2 separate regions of the Homo sapiens genome follow, and region 1 is linked to region 2. The links are contacts of gene promoters, found by promoter capture Hi-C in human tissues and cell types (Jung and others, 2019). All regions are on one chromosome and are shown on one strand. Each heading gives the region's core, a stretch centred on a gene start or on the middle of the fragment in contact. The rest is flanking DNA. Distances are from core to core; before and after follow the strand shown.

Evidence for each region. Contacts are between HindIII fragments. The study calls those that stand out against the background at their distance.
Region 1: a contact is called between a fragment that was not itself captured here and the fragment with the promoter of ACD in region 2, in 2 of the 25 tissues and cell types used here (lymphoblastoid cells and mesendoderm cells).

What each region holds. Positions count from the first base shown.
Region 1 is chr16:67,330,069-67,334,094 of GRCh38, reverse strand. All of the region lies in intron 1 of LRRC36 (leucine rich repeat containing 36), which reads right to left. Among named protein-coding and RNA genes, the nearest start is that of LRRC36, 5.3 kb to the right of the region's middle. The HindIII fragment of the contact is 7,189 bases long and covers 1-4,026 here.
Region 2 is chr16:67,658,309-67,662,431 of GRCh38, reverse strand. It overlaps ACD (ACD shelterin complex subunit and telomerase recruitment factor), which reads left to right and starts at 2,172. Exons shown (of 12, transcript NM_001082486.2): 1 at 2,172-2,310; 2 at 2,387-2,529; 3 at 2,637-2,730; 4 at 2,819-2,895; 5 at 3,013-3,057; 6 at 3,169-3,203; 7 at 3,353-3,504; 8 at 3,616-3,712; 9 at 3,791-3,877; 10 at 4,070-4,123. The coding sequence starts at 2,212. It overlaps PARD6A (par-6 family cell polarity regulator alpha), which reads right to left and starts at 1,472. Exons shown (of 3, transcript NM_001037281.2): 1 at 1,331-1,472; 2 at 755-977; 3 at 1-536. The coding sequence starts at 1,393. RefSeq lists silencers at 1,206-1,685, 1,996-2,105 and an enhancer at 2,259-2,842. The HindIII fragment of the contact is 13,160 bases long and covers 1-4,123 here.

The DNA.
Region 1 (4,026 bases), core at 1,000-3,499, 330 kb after region 2:
CACGCCACTGCACTCCAGCCTGGGCAACAGAGTGAGACTCCATCTCAAAAAAATAAATAAATAAAAATAATAATAATAATGGTGGACACGACATAATTGTCAAAAACCATAGAACTGTACAACACAAAAAATGAGCTCTAATGTAAACTATGGACTTTAGTTAATAATCGCATCAATATTGGTTCATAAATTGTAATATATCACAATAATGCAAGATATTAAAATTAAGGGAAACGGGGTGGGTGGGGAGAGGTGCAAGGAAGGTAAGCGTATATGAGAACTCTCTGTACTTTATGCCCAATTTCTCTGTAAACCTAAAACTGCTCTAAAAAATAAAGTCTATTAATTTTTTTAAAAAAGGAATGAAGTATTAATACATGCTAAAACATGAATGAATAATGAAAATACTATGCTAAGTCAAAGAAGCCAGACAGAAAAGGCTACATATTATATGATTCCAATGATATGAAATACCCAGAAGAGGCAAATCCACAGAGACAGAAAGCAGTTTACTGGTTGCCAGGAGCCAGGGGTAGTGGGAAATGAGGTGTGACTGCCTAATGGGTTGATGAAAATGTTCTGGAACTATATATAGGTAGCAATGATGCTTGCACAACATTGTAAATGTACAAAATGACCCTGAATTGTATATTTTTTAAATGGGGCTACGTGTGGTGGCTCATGCCTGTAATTTCAGCACTTTGGGAGGCGGAGGCAGGTGGATCACTTGAAGTCAGGAGTTCAAGACCAGCCTGGCCAACATGGTGAAACCCTGTCTCTACTAAAAACACAAAAATTAGCAGGGTATGGTGGGACGTGCCTGCAGTCCCACCTACTCAGGATGCTGAGGCAGGAGAATCACTTGAACCTGGGATAGAGGTTGCAGTGAGCTGAGGTCGGGCCACTGCACTGCAGCCTGGGCAATAGGGCAAGATTCTTATCTCAAAATAAATAAATAAATACTAAAACGGTGAACTTTATAGTATGTGAATTATATCTTTTTAAAATGCACCCATCTCTACAAAAAAAGAAAAAATTAGCTGGGCATGGTGGTGCACACCTGTAGTCCCAGCTACTCAGTAGGCAGAGTCAGGAGGATTGCTTGAGCCCAGGAGGTCGGGACTGCAGTGAGCCATGATCATGCCACTGCACTCCAGCTTGGGCAACAGAATAAGACCATGTTTTTTTTAAAAAAAAATAAATAAATAAAATAAATAAATAAATAAAATTTTCCTGACTTTGAGGGCAGTGTATTGGTAATTCTGTGGTATGTTATGATCTAACACCCTGAGAGTCTGTTAACATGGGACAAAAGCTAAGGACAATTATGGTTTCCATCAATGACCCACAGCATTTCTCATGCCTTTCACTGCAGTCTATTTTGAAGAGCAGACATTTTAACATTTTAAGAAGGAATGTGAATTATTAAAATGATAAACTGCCACAAAGACAAACATTCTTTAATGATTCACATGAATGCATGTCTTAAGAGGTTATGCATTTCGTTTCAGTGTTTATTTATTTATTTATTATTTTTTTTTGAGACGGAGTCTCGCTCTGTCACCCAGGCTGGAGTGCAATGGCACCATCTTGGCACACTGCAAGCTCTGCCTCCCAGGTTCACGCCATTCTCCTGTCTCAGCCTCCCAAGTAGCTAGGACTACAGGCGCCCACCACCATGCCCAGCTAATTTTTTTGTATTTTTAGTAGAGACAGGGTTTCATCATGTTAGCCAGGGTTGTCTCGATCTCCTGACCTCGTGATTCGCCCTCCTCAGCCTCCCAAAGTGCTGGGATTACAGGCGTAAGCCACCGCGCCTGGCCGTTTCAGTGTTTATAAAGAGTGAAGACAAATCAGAGAACAAATCAAACACTGCACAGCATAGATGCCAAGAATAAAAGAATGATCTTCCAATTTTAATATATGGGTTACATAACCCCAGTGGGCAAAAATTTGCTATTTGAAAATAACAAATCAAGTAGTCTCTCTAATGAAAACCATTTACAGCTCATTTGGAAATTGAATTAACAACCTTTAACAAAGCTTATTTATAATGACAATGAATGTTTCTAATAAATAAAACTTTTTCTTTTTCTTTTTTTTTTTGAGATGGAGTTTCGCTCTCTTTGCCCAGGCTGGAGTGCAATGGTGTGATCTTGGCTTACTGCAACCTCCGCCTTCAGGGTTCAAGCGATTCTCCTGCCTCAGCCTCCCAAGTAGCTGGGATTACAGGCATGTGCCACCCCGCCCAGCTAATTTTTATATTTTTAGTAGAGATGGGGTTTCAACATGCTGGCCAGGCTGGTCTCAAACTCCCAACCTCAGGTGATCCACCCCCCTCGGCTTCCCAAAGTGCTGGGATTACAGGCGTGAGCCACTACACCTGGCCATAAAACTTTTTTAAAAAGACCTCAGGAGTCAACTTGAAAGATCACCTATTAACTAAAGTTAGGATAAACTGAACATCAATTATGATAAGAACTATAATGGATTAAAACTTACATTGAAATATATTGCTATGGTTTGAACGTCCCCTCCAAAACTCATGATGAAATGTATTAATTTATTCAGAGATAGGGCCTTGCTCTGTCAACTAGGCTGGAGGGCAGTAGCACTATCATAGTGCACTGCAGCCTAAAACTCCTGGGGTCAGAGGATCCTTCCACTTCAGCCTCCTGAGTAGCTGGGACTACAGGTACACACCACCAACACCCAGTTAATTTTTAAATTTTTTGTAGAGACAGGATCTTGCTGTGTTGCCCAGGCTGGTCTCAAATACCTGGCCTCATCCTCCTCCCTGGCCTTCCAAAGTGTGTAAGCCGCCATGCCCAGCTTTCATGTTGAAACGTAATTGCCAATGTAACAGCACTGCGAGGTGGGGCCTCTAAGAGGTGATTAGGTCAACGGTGGCTTCATGCTGTTATCATGGAGTTAGTTATCACGGGAGTTAGCTATCCTAATAAAGGAATTAGTTCAGTCTTCTCTCTCTCTCTCTCTCTCTCTCTCTCTCTCTCTCTCTCTCTCTTTCTCTCTCACATCTCACACATGCACCTTCTGCCCTTCCACCATGGAATGACCCTCACCAGATGTTGGCACCATGCTCTTGGACTTCTCAGCCTCCAGAACCATGAGCCAAATCAACTTCTGTTCTTTATAAATTACCTAGTCTATGGTATTCTGTTATGACAAGAGAAAAGGGACTAAGACATTTATTTATTTATTTATTTATTTAGACTGAGTCTCAGTCTTTCGTCCAGGCTGAAGTGCAGTGGTGCGATCTCAGTTCACTGCAACCTCTGCTTCCCAGGCTCAAGTGATTCTCCTGCCTCAGCCTCCTGAGTAGCTGGGATTATAGGCACCTGCCACCATGCCGGGCTAATTTTTTTTGTATTTTTAGTACAGATGAGGTTTCACCATGTTGGACAGACTGGTCTTGAACTCCTGACCTCAGGTGATCCATCCTCCTTGGCCTCCCAAAATGCTGGGATTACAGGCGTGAACGACCATGCCCAGCCCTAAGACATATATTTAAATCGATGAGTTTATAATGATACTGAGAAAGCAAAACAGTCCTCACTGGTCACCTTTGGAGAATGCTAAGAAAATAACTCATCATTCTGAAAGCTGGCATATAAGGTGAAAACAAATCAAGCTTTTATGCTGCCTTTCCTATACAAACTGTACCTCAGGATAAGCAAACAGTTGATGTGAGGAAATTTCTCTTTATAGAAGTATTACAGTTAATGAAGAAAAATGAAAGAAATAGACAATTACCATTTTGCAATCCCTAATGAATTAACTTAGGTAATCATATTCAGTGGCTGATATCACGAAAAGAAAGAACACTAGGCACCATATACTTCCTAACATAAACATACACCATTACCTATGAAATCGTCTTGTGAAAAAAAAAAAATCCAACCTGAATCTGATTAAGCCTCATCTAACTACCAATTCATAGGAAGTACAGGGAACACGGGAAAATGTTTAACATCTTAGGAATGCAATGAGCAAAGTTCAGGTTAT
Region 2 (4,123 bases), core at 923-3,422:
CTCAGCAGGCCCAGGCCCTGCAGAGGGAGGACCTGTCAAACGCCCAGATGCCCCTCGCACCACGTTATTGCGCTGGTTGGCGGGCTTGACAGTGACAATGAGGTTATGGCTGTTGGCAACCATCATGTCCGTCACTTGGTCCAAGGTCTTCCCGGCTACTTCAATGCCATTGACCTCGAGGATCTCATCACTGACCGCCAGCAGCCCTGTACTCTCAGCCAGACCCCCACGTACCAGGCGGGAGATGAAGATTCCTGGAACCCGCTCCAGGCCCTGGGGAGCCACACGCACGCTCATGCCATCTCGGATGTAGAAGCCCAGGGGGCGGTCTGAACCATGCTTGTGCAGCCGCACCCGTCGGTGGGTCTCAGGCAGTAGGTCCACGTCTATGACTGAGGAAACCTGGCGGAAATCTTGGGGCAGGCTGATTAGCAAGGGTGGCCGGGTGCGCAGGGGTGCCACTGGCCGCAGCAAGAGCCCTTTCTTGCGCCGCTGCAGAGAGTTGGAGGCAAAAGCCAGGCCGCTGGAGTCAGCTTCTGCTGCAGAAGAGGGGGGATGTTGAGATCAGAGACCTGCTCCCCGACTTGGGCTGTTTACAGGGGGCACTGTAGCTATTTCCTACCACTTAGAGGTCAAGCCAAGGGCAGGGACTGCAGAGGGTGACGCTTGGGTACCCTGGGCATGGACTAACCCTTGTAGACCTGCCCCACAGACACCTTACCCCACAGAGGCTGCCCACTGTACCCCTCCTCACCCCGCTTCTGCACCAGTAGGCGCAGTGGCGGGGGCCCGCTGGCCAGGGCCCGGTGCAGGCTGTCGTCGTTGGTGAGGGGCAGCAGGTCGCCATGAGCATCCGTATAGCCAAGTAGCACGTCCAGGCCCGGGATCTGGTGCACCGCCCGCAGCAACCGCGAGAACTCCTGGAAGCCGCTCACCGAAGCGCGAGGCAGCGCGAAGCGTCGGAACTCGGCGTCAAACTGGAAGTCGGGGTTGGGGGAGAGGAGGAGTCAGGACAGCCTGCGCCCCTTTCTCACCGCAGGCTGGCAGGAATGGGAAAGATGCGGCTGCCGCTTTTGCGGCAGCCTTAAGCCCAGACCTCAGCTCCAGTACCAGGGACGCTGTCCAAGGTCTTCTTACCGCCCTCCAGGTACTCAGGCCACAGAGAGCTGGAGACCAGCAGTGGAGGAAGGAAGACGGATGGGGGAAGGCGAGCAGAAAAGCAGAATGGGACTTGGAGGATAGAGGGAAGAGGTGGCGGGGACCAAGGAGCTGGGAAGGGGAGAAAGAGGGAATTGGGAGCGCCTAGGGCCGAGGCCGGAGGAGCCCTTACTTTGCTCTTCACCTCGACGATGCTATCGGGACTGCGCGCCGGAGTCCTCTGCGGCCGGGCCATGGCGGGGCCGGGCGGGCCGGGGACGGTGCCCCAGGCGGCCCGCCGAGGCGCAGGTGCACAGCCCGGCCGGCCCGCCCGCGCCGCCCCGCCCCTGGCGGTAGCACACGCCCCGCCTTCCCATCCGGAGCGTGACGTCAAGGGGGCAGCGACGCAGAGTGGAACGCGGAGTCCACGTTTCCTAGGAAACGGAGCCGTGGATGGAGAGGAGCCGTCCTCCGCTCTTGCGTCATCACGCTGAGGTCCGCGCGCCCCCGGAGTCTGGGGAGCAGGGCTCCGCCAATCCGAGGGGAGGGCGAAGGAAGTACCATTTATTTAGCGCTGTGTGTGTGCTCTTATTTCCACTGGCCTTACAAGACCGTGCACTGTGTAGATGAGGAAACTGAGTCATAATAAATATGTGCTGAACCGTTCGGGGGTCACACGGTGCTGAAATGGTTTCGAGTCAACTCGCTCGGACGGCACTCGGCCTCAGCCTCCGGCCCTGGAACCCTCTCCAGGGACGGGACCAGCCCTTGTTCTGTTCCCTACCGGTACCACAGGAATCTTGACGAACGGCCCAAATGCCTGGCCGCTGTCAGAGTGACGCCGCGATGAGAGTAAACGGGCCAGCATCCCGTGCACCAGCGGGGTGGACCAGCGGGAGTCTGCACACAGGCCCCCGAGCAGGACGCCCTCGTGCGCAGGCGCGGGGTGTACGTGGGCGGGGCCTCCTCCTCCGGCCCCGCCCAGCGAAGGAGCTTCCTCTTCCGAGGAAAGGCGGGGCCTGGGCGCCCGCGGGAAACCCGGGCCCGTTGCATCCGCTGGGTGTAGCCGTGGGGATGGCAGGTTCGGGGAGGCTGGTCCTACGGCCCTGGATTCGGGAGCTGATTCTGGGGTCAGAGACACCCTCCAGTCCACGAGCCGGGCAGCTGCTTGAGGTGAGCCCCCATTCAGGGCCCGGAGACCGAGGCGGAGGCCCGGGGTGGTGGGATTGACGCCGCTCGCCGCCGTCAGGTACTACAGGACGCCGAGGCCGCGGTCGCGGGCCCATCCCACGCCCCTGATACGTCCGACGTCGGGGCCACGCTGCTTGTGTCTGACGGGACCCACAGTGTCCGATGCCTGGTGACGCGGGAGGCCCTGGACACCTCGGACTGGTGAGAGGCCCCGCGCGGCTCTGGAGGTCGGAGTCCGGCAGGAGAGCGCGAGGTGGGCGGGCCTTGTGTTCAGGTGGGCCCGGCAGTGAGGATCCTGCTTGTTGCAGGGAGGAGAAGGAGTTCGGCTTCCGCGGGACAGAGGGCCGGCTGCTGCTGCTGCAGGACTGCGGGGTTCATGTCCAGGTCGCTGAGGGCGGCGCGGTGAGTGGTGAGACTGCCTTGGGCGGGTTACCGGGCATGACTCTTCGTGACGATTCTGAGACCCCCCCTTCCCCCCGAACTCCTCCAGCCCGCAGAGTTCTATCTCCAGGTGGACCGCTTCAGCCTGCTGCCCACGGAGCAGCCCCGGCTACGGGTGCCTGGTTGGTAAGTGATGCCTCCGCCCTCCAGCAGCTCTCCCCACCCCAGCCTGGCCGGCGCTGGCAGACGCCTATGGGGTAGGAGGGCTTGGGCCCCCATTAACTACCCTTCTCTTTTTCTTAGCAACCAAGACTTAGATGTTCAGAAAAAGCTCTATGACTGCCTTGAGTGAGTCTGGGGTTGGGCTCGGGGGCCACGTGTTGTTTGGTGAGGGGATGGTGTATCTAGGTAGACAGGCCTCAGCATGGTTCCTGAGTCCTGGCCACTCTCTTCCTGTAGGGAGCACCTTTCAGAGTCCACCTCGTCCAATGCAGGTACTGTAGAGCTTGACCAGTGATCCTAACACGCTGTGCAGTGATCTCTCCAGCCTTAACCTTATGCTTCCTCAATAAGCTGTCTTCCCCCTCACCCTCCTGGTCCTCCCCTTTAAGCCTTGACTCATCCCATGGTCCCCTGTCCCCAGGCCTATCACTGTCCCAGCTTCTGGATGAAATGCGGGAGGACCAGGAGCATCAGGGGGCACTCGTGTGCCTGGCTGAAAGCTGCCTGACACTGGAGGGCCCTTGCACAGCACCCCCTGTCACCCACTGGGCTGCCTCACGATGCAAGGCCACGGTCAGTCTGGGGATTTGCTTGGGAGATGTCAGGGTGAGGAGTTGGGCAAGGGTCATATCCCACAGGACATGAGAGTAAACGGGCCTGTCCTACAGAGTTCATGTCCCACAGGGAGAAGCTGTGTACACTGTCCCCAGCTCAATGCTGTGCATCTCTGAGAATGACCAGCTAATTCTGAGCTCTCTAGGCCCCTGTCAGAGGACACAGGGTAAGGGGGACTGGAGAGGTTGGGGGGATACCTGGGGCCCAGGTCCACAGTGCTGATAAGACTTCCTGAACCCCCCAGGCCCTGAGCTGCCCCCACCAGACCCGGCTCTGCAGGACCTATCTCTGACCCTCATAGCCTCTCCTCCTTCCTCACCCAGTTCCTCAGGTGAGGTGATGCACAGGTCACAGGCACTCACTGCCGCCTGTCAGTCAGGTTCCCGGGCTGCGCAGGATGCTGTGAAAGGTGCACGGTGGGTGGGGGATGAACACGGTCCCTGCAGTCCTGTCTGAGCTCGCAGGCCACTCAGCTGCCCTGAGCGGAGAGGGCTGTGCCTACAATAAGTCCCCTCCTCCTCAGGAACCCCGGCCTTACCCGGCCACATGTCATCCGAGGAAAGTGGTACCAGCATCA